Linked DNA regions of Homo sapiens: all the other regions are linked to region 2. The links are contacts of gene promoters, found by promoter capture Hi-C in blood cells and fetal thymus (Javierre and others, 2016). All regions are on one chromosome and are shown on one strand. The core of a region is centred on a gene start or on the middle of the fragment in contact, and the rest is flanking DNA. Distances in the headings are between cores, read along the strand shown.

Evidence for each region. Contacts are between HindIII fragments. The CHiCAGO score rates a contact against its expected background, and 5 or more counts as called.
Region 1: a fragment that was not itself captured here is called in contact with the fragment with the promoter of GCNA in region 2 in 2 of 17 cell types (activated CD4 T cells and naive CD8 T cells); the score reaches 7.1 in activated CD4 T cells.
Region 3: a contact is called between a fragment that was not itself captured here and the fragment with the promoter of GCNA in region 2, in 9 of 17 cell types (activated CD4 T cells, non-activated CD4 T cells, total CD8 T cells and 6 more). The highest score is 8.5, in activated CD4 T cells.

The regions. Positions count from the first base shown.
Region 1 is chrX:71,477,394-71,480,485 of GRCh38, forward strand. It overlaps a transcript of TAF1 not described here. Among named protein-coding and RNA genes, the nearest start is that of OGT, 54 kb to the right of the region's middle. The HindIII fragment of the contact is 6,178 bases long and covers 1-3,092 here.
Region 2 is chrX:71,576,934-71,579,873 of GRCh38, forward strand. It overlaps GCNA (germ cell nuclear acidic peptidase), which reads left to right and starts at 1,504. Exons shown (of 13, transcript NM_052957.5): 1 at 1,504-1,589. RefSeq lists an enhancer at 1,711-2,352. The HindIII fragment of the contact is 6,206 bases long and covers 1-2,940 here.
Region 3 is chrX:71,460,891-71,464,019 of GRCh38, forward strand. TAF1 (TATA-box binding protein associated factor 1) reads left to right here. Exons shown (of 38, transcript NM_004606.5): 38 at 2,934-3,129. Among named protein-coding and RNA genes, the nearest start is that of OGT, 71 kb to the right of the region's middle. The HindIII fragment of the contact is 3,288 bases long and covers 1-2,982 here.

The DNA.
Region 1 (3,092 bases), core at 463-2,962, 99 kb before region 2:
GATCCTCCCATCTCAGCCTCCTGAATAGCTGGGTCTACAGGCACATGACACCTGCCTGGCTAATTTTTGTACTTTTTATGGAGACAGGGTCTCACTATGTTGCCTAGGCCAGTCCCAAACTCCTGGCCTCAATCGATGCTCCTACCTCAGCCTTCCAAAGTGCTAAGTGCTGGGATCATAGGTGTGAGTCACTGTGCCCACTAAGAATATTTCTATAGCCTTGGTATACAAAAGGATTTCTTAGACAATAACATAAAGGGCAAATCATAAAATAAAATTTGGATGCATTTAACTGTGTTAAAAAATATAAACTTTTGAAGCCGGGCACGGTGGCATACGCCTGTAATTCCAGCACTTTGGGAGGCCGAGGCAGGTGGATCACTCGAGGTCAGGAGTTCGAGACCAGCCTGACCAACATGGTGAAACCCCATCTCTACTAAAAATACAAAAATTAGCTGGGCATGGTAGCACATACATGTAATCCCAGCTTCTCGGGAGGCTAAGGCAGGAGACTCACTTGAGCGCAGGAGGCAAAGGCTGCAGTGAGCCGAGATCACACCATTGCCCTCCAGCCTGGGTGATAGAGCAAGACTCTGTTTCTAAATAAATAAATAAACTTTTGTTCATCATAAGACATCATTTTAAAAGGTGATGGGCTGGCAGAAGATGTTTCCAATTCATATAACTGATAAAGAATAACTATCCTGGGCCAGGCATGGTGGCTGAGGCCGGCAGATCACCTGAGGTCAGGAGTTCGAGACTAGCCCAGCCAACATGGTGAAACCCTATCTCTACAAAAAATACAAAAAAATTAGCTGGGCGTGGTGGTGGGTGCCTGTAATCCCAGCTACTTGGGAGGCTGAGGCAGGAGAATTGCTTGAATTCGGGAGGTGGAGGTTGCAGTGAGCCAAGATCACGCCACTGCACTCCAGCCTGGGCAACAAGAGTGAACCCCCTTCTCAAAAAAAGAATAACTATCCTGGCCAACTGCGGTGGCTCATGCCTGTAATCTCAATGCTTTGGGGGCCGAGGTAGGAGGATCACTTGAGCCCAGGAGTTCGAGGCTGCAGTGAGCTATGATCATACCACTGCACTCCTCCAGCCTAGGTGATAGAGCAAGACCTTGTCTCAAACAAACAAACAAACAAACAAACAAAAACAAGAGAATCCTGGCCAAGTGCGATGGCTCACACCTGTAATCTCAGCATCCCAGAACTTTGACAGGCAGAGATGGGAGGATTGCTTGAGTCCACGAGTTTGAGACCAGACTGGGTAACATAGGGAGGTCTATCTTTAGCAAAAATTCTTTTTAAATTCTGAAAAAAAATATGTAAGACAATATATCGGTAAGAAAAAGACAAGCCATCCAATGAAAACTGACCAAAAAACATAAAGCAGCATTTCACAGAAGAGAAAACAGGAATAGCCAATAAACGTGAAAATGTTGGCCAGGCTGGTCTTGAACTCCTGACCTCAGGTGATCCGCCCGCCTTGGCCTCCCAAAGTGCTGGGATTACAGGCGTGAGCCACTGCACCTAGCTGACTTAATCAGCAATTCTACCCCTAGGTATATATGCTAGAAAAATTCTTGCACCACCGTACCAGAAGACATGTACAAGAATTCAAGAGTGTTAATAGCTGCACTGATCTTTATAGCAAAAAGTTGAAAATAGCTCAAATGTTCTTCAATAAGAGAATGGTTTAGTAAATTATGGTATTATTATAAAAGGGAAAACTATACATTGGTAAAAATACCTACAGATACAAATATCAACATAGATGAGTCCCACGAACATAATGTGGAAGGAAAGTTCAGAAAAATTCATATGATATGATTCTATGTATATAAGGTTCAAAAACACGGGTGAGAAAGCCATAAAGAAAAGTATAATTACTGGCCAGACATGATGGCTCATGCCTGTAATCCCAGCACTTTGGAAGGCCAAGGCAGGAGGATCACTTGAGGCCAGGAGTTCAAGATCAGCCTGGGCAATATGGCAAAGCCCAATTGCTACTAAAAATACAAAAATTAGCCGGGCGTGGTGGCGCATGCCTGCAGTCCTAGCTACTTGGGAGGCTGAGACAGGAGAATCTCTTGAACCCGGGAGGTGGAGGTTGCAGTGAACTGAGATCACGCCACTCCACTCCAGTCTGGGTGATGGAGTGAGACTCTGTCTCAAAAAATAAATAAACAAAAAGAAAAAAAAGTACAATTCCTAATAGCAGTTATATCTTGCAGGGAAGGAAAGGAATGCAATTCAGAAGGGTATCCAGAGAGCTTCAGAGGCTCTGGTAATGTTCTGGTTTGTAAGCTGATTGGTGGGCACTTAGATGTTCATTTTCTTATTCTTTAAATTATATATGAGATTTTTATCTACCATAAATGTCAGATATACTTTTGTATTTGTGATATATTTCATAAAAGTTTTTAAGCTGAAAAAAAAGTGACTGGAAGGTGAGAAAGCAGCTAGGCTATCAGGGGAAGGAGAATGATAGTAATAGCTAAAGGGAGAAATGGGATAACCAGAAAATTTTTAAAAGACCTATGAGGCCGGCTGTGGTGGCTCATGCCTGTAATCCCAGCACTTTGGGAGGCCCAGGTGGGAGGATCTCTTGAGCCCAGGAATTTTAGACCAGCCTGGGCAACATAGCGAGACCATGTCTCTGTGAAAAATCAAAAAATTATCTGGGCATGGTGGTGTGCACCTGCAGTCCTAGCTACTTGGGAGGCTGATGTGGGAGGATCACTTGAGCCCAGGAGTTTGAGGCTGCAGTGAACCATGACTGTATCACTGCACTCCAGCCTGGGCAACAGACTGAGACTGTCTCAAAAAACAAAACCAAAAACAAAACTAGCCAGACATGGTGGCATATACCTGTAGTCCCAGCTACTCGGGAGGCTGAGGCAAGAGGATCCCTTGAGCCCAGGAGTTTGAGGTTGCAGTGGGCTATGATCGCACCACTGCACCCCACCATGGATCCTGTCTCTTAAAAAAAGAGAAAGACTTATGAGCATGTTTACAGCCTTGATTCATTCAACAAACATTTATTGAATTCCCACTATGTACCCGGTAGTATGCTGGGCCTTGGGG
Region 2 (2,940 bases), core at 254-2,753:
CTTTTACTTGAAGCATATGCCTCTCAATTATAGCTAACATCCTGGTTCTTTGCCCAAGCCTCTGAGGCACAGTTATGTAATCCCCATTCTTATAAAGAGGCTTGTAGAGGTTAATTTGCAACTTCATTGTAGAGAGAGAGAGTAATCAGCCCCCTTTATCCAATTTTTTTATCAACTGAGAAAGTATCTGTATTTAGGTAGGCAATCTGGTGCTTAAGAGCAGGTTTTGGAACTAGAGTTGGAGTTTGAATCTCAGCTCTGCCACTTTTTTTTTTTTTTTTGAGATGGAGTCTCGCCCTGTCCCCATGCTGGAGTGCAATGGCACGATCTCGGCTCACTGCAACCTCCGCCTCCCAGGTTCCAGCGATTCTCCTGCCTCAGCCTCCCGAGTAGCTGGGATTACAGGCGCGGGCCACCACACGCGGCTATTTTTTTTTTTTTATCTTTAGTAGAGACGGGGTTTCACCATGTTGACCAGGCTGGTCTCAAGCTCCTGACTTCGTGATCCACCCGCCTCAGCCTCCCAAAGTGCTGGGGTTACAGGCGTGAGCCACTGTGCCCGGCCAGCTCTGCCACTTTCTAGCTGTGTGATCTCTAAAATGAGAGTGCTAACAGTTGCCTACTTTTTAAAGTGTTGTATGAATTAAGTCGTAAGACACTTGGAATAATGCTTAGCACAAAATAGTATCAAACGCAGGGACATTTTATGTGTGTTCTGTTACCCAAAGGCATACATTACGAAATATATAGATGCTCGCTGGAGAAACTGGCACAATCTAGAAAGCGCTGTTTTCCCCGTTTGTTTTTCTTGGTGTGTATGGAGTGAGTGCCAAAAAGCCTCAAGTAACCTTTTTTTATCTCCAGGGTTTGGAGGGTTCTGGAAGTAAACATCATAGTTCGCCGTTGCCAGGCGCTGTTGAGTTGCTGCCTTGCTCTTATCTAGGGGTCTAGATGGCCTTCCCTGCAACCCCCGCCCCCCTGCGCTCCCGCGTCCCCCCGCGCCCCGCCCTCCCCTCGGTGTTCCCGTCCACGCCCCTGCTCCCGCGCCTTCGCTCCAGTTCTCGTGCCCCCGCCCCTCCCCCCGCGCCCTTTCCCAGTGGTTGCAATAACGGACTTAGAGGTCTGGACAATTCAAGTAAGGAACAAGGCTCGCTTATCCAAGTTCTCGCAGGATAAAAGTTTGTTATGAACGATTTCACATGGTTTCTCTTTATCAGAAAGTTGTTAGGGACTTTTAATCGCAGAATTGGCCTCGGGTGCCCACGCTCTAGTATTGAAATGGCGGTTTTGGGACAAATAAGCAACATCCGTGGGAGTGGAAAGCGACAGACCTGATCCCGGAAGCGTTACAGCTAGGCGCCAAGTTCACAGGCGCGAAGTTCAAATTTGTCTTGTGACCACTGTGATAGGTGGGTACAGGGGAGCGCGGGCGAGCACACGTGAATTACTGCTACCGCCCCCTAGGTCCGGGCACTATAAAGGGGCCTGCGCCTGGCGTTGTTCATCGCAGTTGCTCCGGATCTTTGCACACACTCCACGGGCAGTTGGAGGTGAGCTGCTGCCGGCCACGCCAGAGGCTGCAACACCAGGTAGGTGACCGGCTGGTCGGACTGAGATGGGTGCTGAAGTGGTCCAGAGGTTAATCCTAATTGAGTGACTTAATTAAAATCAGGACCACTGTATACCTTGGACTCTGGTTGCCCGTGTAGGCCTGAGGTGGGAGTAGAGGAAGTGGCAGCGAGGGGAGAAGTGGAGGCGCCAGTGGTAGCATTGGGGGAGGTGGGGGCGCCCATGGTGGTGTAGGAAACATATGGTGGCGCCAGTGGCGGCATTGGGAGGGGTGGGGGCGCCGGTGGCGGCGTAGGAGCAGCTGGTAGTGCCAGTGGCGGCGTGGGGAGAAGGGGCGCTGGTGGCGTCATTGCAGATAGTGGGGGGCCTGGTGGTGGCGTAGAAGGAGGTGTTGGTGCCAGTGGCGGGTGGAGAGAAGTAGGGGCACCAGTGGCGGCGTTGGGGGAAGTGGGGGTGCCTGTGGCAGTGTCGGGGAAGTGGGGGTGCTGGTGGTGGTGTAGGAGCATGTGGTAGCACCAGTGACGGTGTGGGGAGAAGTAGGGGCACCATTGGCGGCCTTGGGGGAAGTGGGAGCGCTGGTGGTGGCGTAGGAGCGTGTGGTGGCGCCAGTGGCTATGTAGGAATACGTGGCGCCGGTGGCGGCGCGGGGAGAAGTGAGGGCGCTGGTTGCGGCACTGGGGGGAGGTGGGGGCCCCAGTGGTGGTGTAGGAACAGGTGGTGTCCCTAGTGGCGGGTGGGGAGAAGTAGGGATGCCAGTGGCAGCGTGGGGGGAGGTGGGGGTGCCAGTTGCGGCCTAGGAGTACTTGGTGGCGTTGGTGGCATAGGAGCACATAGTAGCGCTGGCGGTGTGGGGAGAAGTGGAGGCGCCGGTGGCCGCATTGAAGGTGGGGGTGCCAATGGGGGCGTTGAGGGAAGTGGGGGGTTCTGGTGGCGGCGTAGGAACACTTGGTGGTGGTGGAAGTGGCCTAGGAGCACGTGGTGGTGCTGGTGGGCGTGGGGAGAAGTGAGGATGCTGGTGGTGGCATTGGAGGTGGGGGTGCCAGTGGCTGTGGGGAGAAGTGGGGGTGCCCGTTGCAGCATTGGGGGGAGGTGGGAGCTAGTGGTTGTGGGTAGGGGTGTGTGTGTGGGGGTTGAGGTCTCTTTGGCTGAGGACTGAGTGGTGGTGGGAGACAGGAGTGGGGTAGGGCAGAAGTTGGATAGAAGTGTGGGGGAGTGGAAGCCTGCTTGGAAAACCGGTTGGGAGCAGTTGAAGGTGGCTGGAGGTGGTTGGAGGTGCGAGTGTGGGGGAAGGGTGGTGGGGTTGAGGCCTGATTGGTGGAAGACTGAGGTGAGAATGGTGGGGGTAGGGTCCAGACCTGATAGGAGGAAGGA
Region 3 (3,129 bases), core at 89-2,588, 120 kb before region 2:
TCAAACATTTCCTGGGCACCTACTAGGGCCAGGCACTGTGCTAGGCTCTGGGGATACACAGAGGAGCAAAACATATCCTGCCCTTGAGGAGCCCACAGCCTAGTGGAAAAGACTGACACAAACAAATCATTACAAATACAATGTGATAAGTGCTATAGCGTAAGTAAGACAAAGTGCCAAAGCACCACTGAGAAGGGAGTGTCTCAGTCTGCTTGGAGTTATCAGGGAAAGTTTCACAGACAAGGGAACATTTGAATTGGGCCTTAAAAGATTAATAGGAGTTTACTAAGTAGGTACTATGGCAGGGGGTGGGGAGAACTTTATAGGTGGAACAATGTGTTCAAAGACACAGAAGTAGAACACAAAGTATGTTCCAGAGCAAATGGAAGTTGTTGGGGAGTTGAGGCTCCAGAAGTGTAGCAAGGGGGATTATATTGTGAAGGACTTTAAAAGGCATGCTAAGACCTTTGGACCTTAACCTGCGGGTAATAGGAGTCATCAGTTTAAGGAAAAGGAAGTAACATCAAATTTGTATAACTTAGGACAATGTGGGACACATGATGAGGATATCAACAGGGACTTGTCAGGAGTGGGGAAAATAAAGGGACATAAAGAGGTAAGGAGGTTAGATGAATAATGAATGGAGATGTCTGGTAGAGGAAAGAGGAAGAATACATATTAGATGGGGCAGGAAAGGAGGAAAAAATGGATTTGGATTTGGCTTTGGACAAGTTAAATTTAATGTATCTATGATACATCTAACCAGCAAGCAGATAATATGCAATAACATTGTAAACAAATTAATTTTTTACTTCAGCAAATATTTATCATAAGTACAAAAACAACTAAGATATGGTCCCTTCCTTCAAGGAGATCAGTCTAGTAGGAAACCTAAAACAGGTAAAACAGGCAATCATAGTGTAATATGAAAAGTGCTATGCTAGGCAACCGCAGGGTTTTTCTAGGACTTGGGTAGAGGTGGGGAGGGAGGAGAGCTGGCTAGAGAAGGAAATTGAGCCTAATATGAATAGGAATTAGCTAAACGAATAAGAAAGCAATGGGCATTCCAGAGACTAGGAAGAGCCTATATGAAGACACAGGCATGAAACACTTCACAGGCATGAAACGCTTTCAGAGAACACACGTAGCTCAGTGTGACTGGAGATTTTTTGATTGATCCATGTAAGATCTATAATTCATGTGATAGAAATGACTTAAAGAGGTAGGTAAATACCAAATCATGAAGGGCCTGAAAGTTCTGGGCGGTCATTGAATGAGAATAGTATGACCAGATTTACATTTTAGAAAGATTGTCCTGTGCCCCAAAAGAAAAATGGGCAAAGGCATGAACTAATTTACAAAAGAAATGTAAATGGCCAATATATCATATGAAAAAATAACTTCCAGCCGGGCGCGGTGGCTCATGCCTAAAATCCCAGCACTTTGGGAGGCCGAGGCAGGCAGATCACAAGGTCAAGAGATCTAGACCATCCTGGCCAACATGGTGAAACCCTGTCTCTACTAAAAATACAAAAATTAGCTGGGCCTGGTCACACCTGTAGTCCCAGCTACTCAGGAGGCTGAGGCAGGAGAATCGCTTGAACCCAGGAGGCAGAGGTTGCAGTGAGCCGAGATCGTGCCACTGTACTCCAGCCTGGTGACAGAGCAAGACTCAGTCTCAAAATGATAATAAAAATAATAACAACAATAATAGTAACTCCCCTAATAAACGCAGTAAAACCACGAAGTGCAATTTTTTTACCTATCATATTGGTGATTAAAGTGAATGATAATGCCTAGTGTTTGGAAAGGCTATGAGGAAAAAGACATTCTCAAACTACTGGTGGTAATGTCGATTGATAGAAATGGGGTGGTTTGGAGAGAGGCTTATTTATTTATCATCATAAATAAAAACATTTAAAAACGTGCATCCCCTTTGGCCCAAAAAATCCACATCTAGGAAATTATTTTATGGGAATAATTAACACACCATCAAGATGTTTGTGTAAGGATGTTTTATGACAGCATTGTTTCTAATAGTGGAATAATTGGAGACAGCTTAAATGTCCTAGTGAGAGACTGTTAAGTCATGTTACAGCCATGTGTGGAATACCATGTAGCTATTAAAATTATGCTATAGACGTTATGTTTATTGACATGGAAAGATGTTCATTATAATCATTAGTGAAGAGGGCAGATTTCCTGGAGAGTATGTAGAGTATCCCAATTTTGTAAATTAAAAAAAATGTTTAAGCATCTAAAGTTCACAAAAAATTTTGGAAGGTAATATACCAAAAGATTATCTCTGGATGATGGAGTTATTGATTTTTTTAAATTTTTTTCTGGTGTATATTCTAATTTTTTTAACCAGTGAACGTGCATTACTTGTGTGATTTTTTTTTCAAGTAAAATTAAGAATAAACAAACAAACAAAAAAATAAAGAGCACTCTGGCAGAAGTGTGAAGAAGTAATTGGAGGAGAGCAAGACTGGCGGCATGACGACTTATTTCAGTAGTGCAGGCCAGAGATAACAAAGGACTAAGCCAAGGTAGGCAGAGTAGGGATGGAAAGGAGGGGATAGAGACAAGATATATTGAAGAGAGAATCTTCAGGACTATTGACTAATTGGATACTGTAAGTGGTAGATGAAACCATGAGGCTGTCAGAGCATTTATGGTCATGTAAGATGGCAGTGTGTTGTTCAGGTGTAAGGGAGTTTCTTCCATTCAGGTTCTTGTGTATATGACGTTGGCAAGTTGATGTTTTTGAACAGGGTCATTTTTCTCTCAGGGACATGTAGAATAGTCCAGAACCAGTCACTTTAGTGTCCAGGGGAGGTGAGATGGGCTGATCCTTTGGTGGCACTGAGAATGGGAATGGTCAGGTAGAGGATGGTGTCCGAGCTTGAGAGATGACATGTTTCTCTTCTCAGTTATGGGAGCTATGAGGAGCCTGATCCCAAGTCGAACACCCAAGACACAAGCTTCAGCAGCATCGGTGGGTATGAGGTATCAGAGGAGGAAGAAGATGAGGAGGAGGAAGAGCAGCGCTCTGGGCCGAGCGTACTAAGCCAGGTCCACCTGTCAGAGGACGAGGAGGACAGTGAGGATTTCCACTCCATTGCTGGG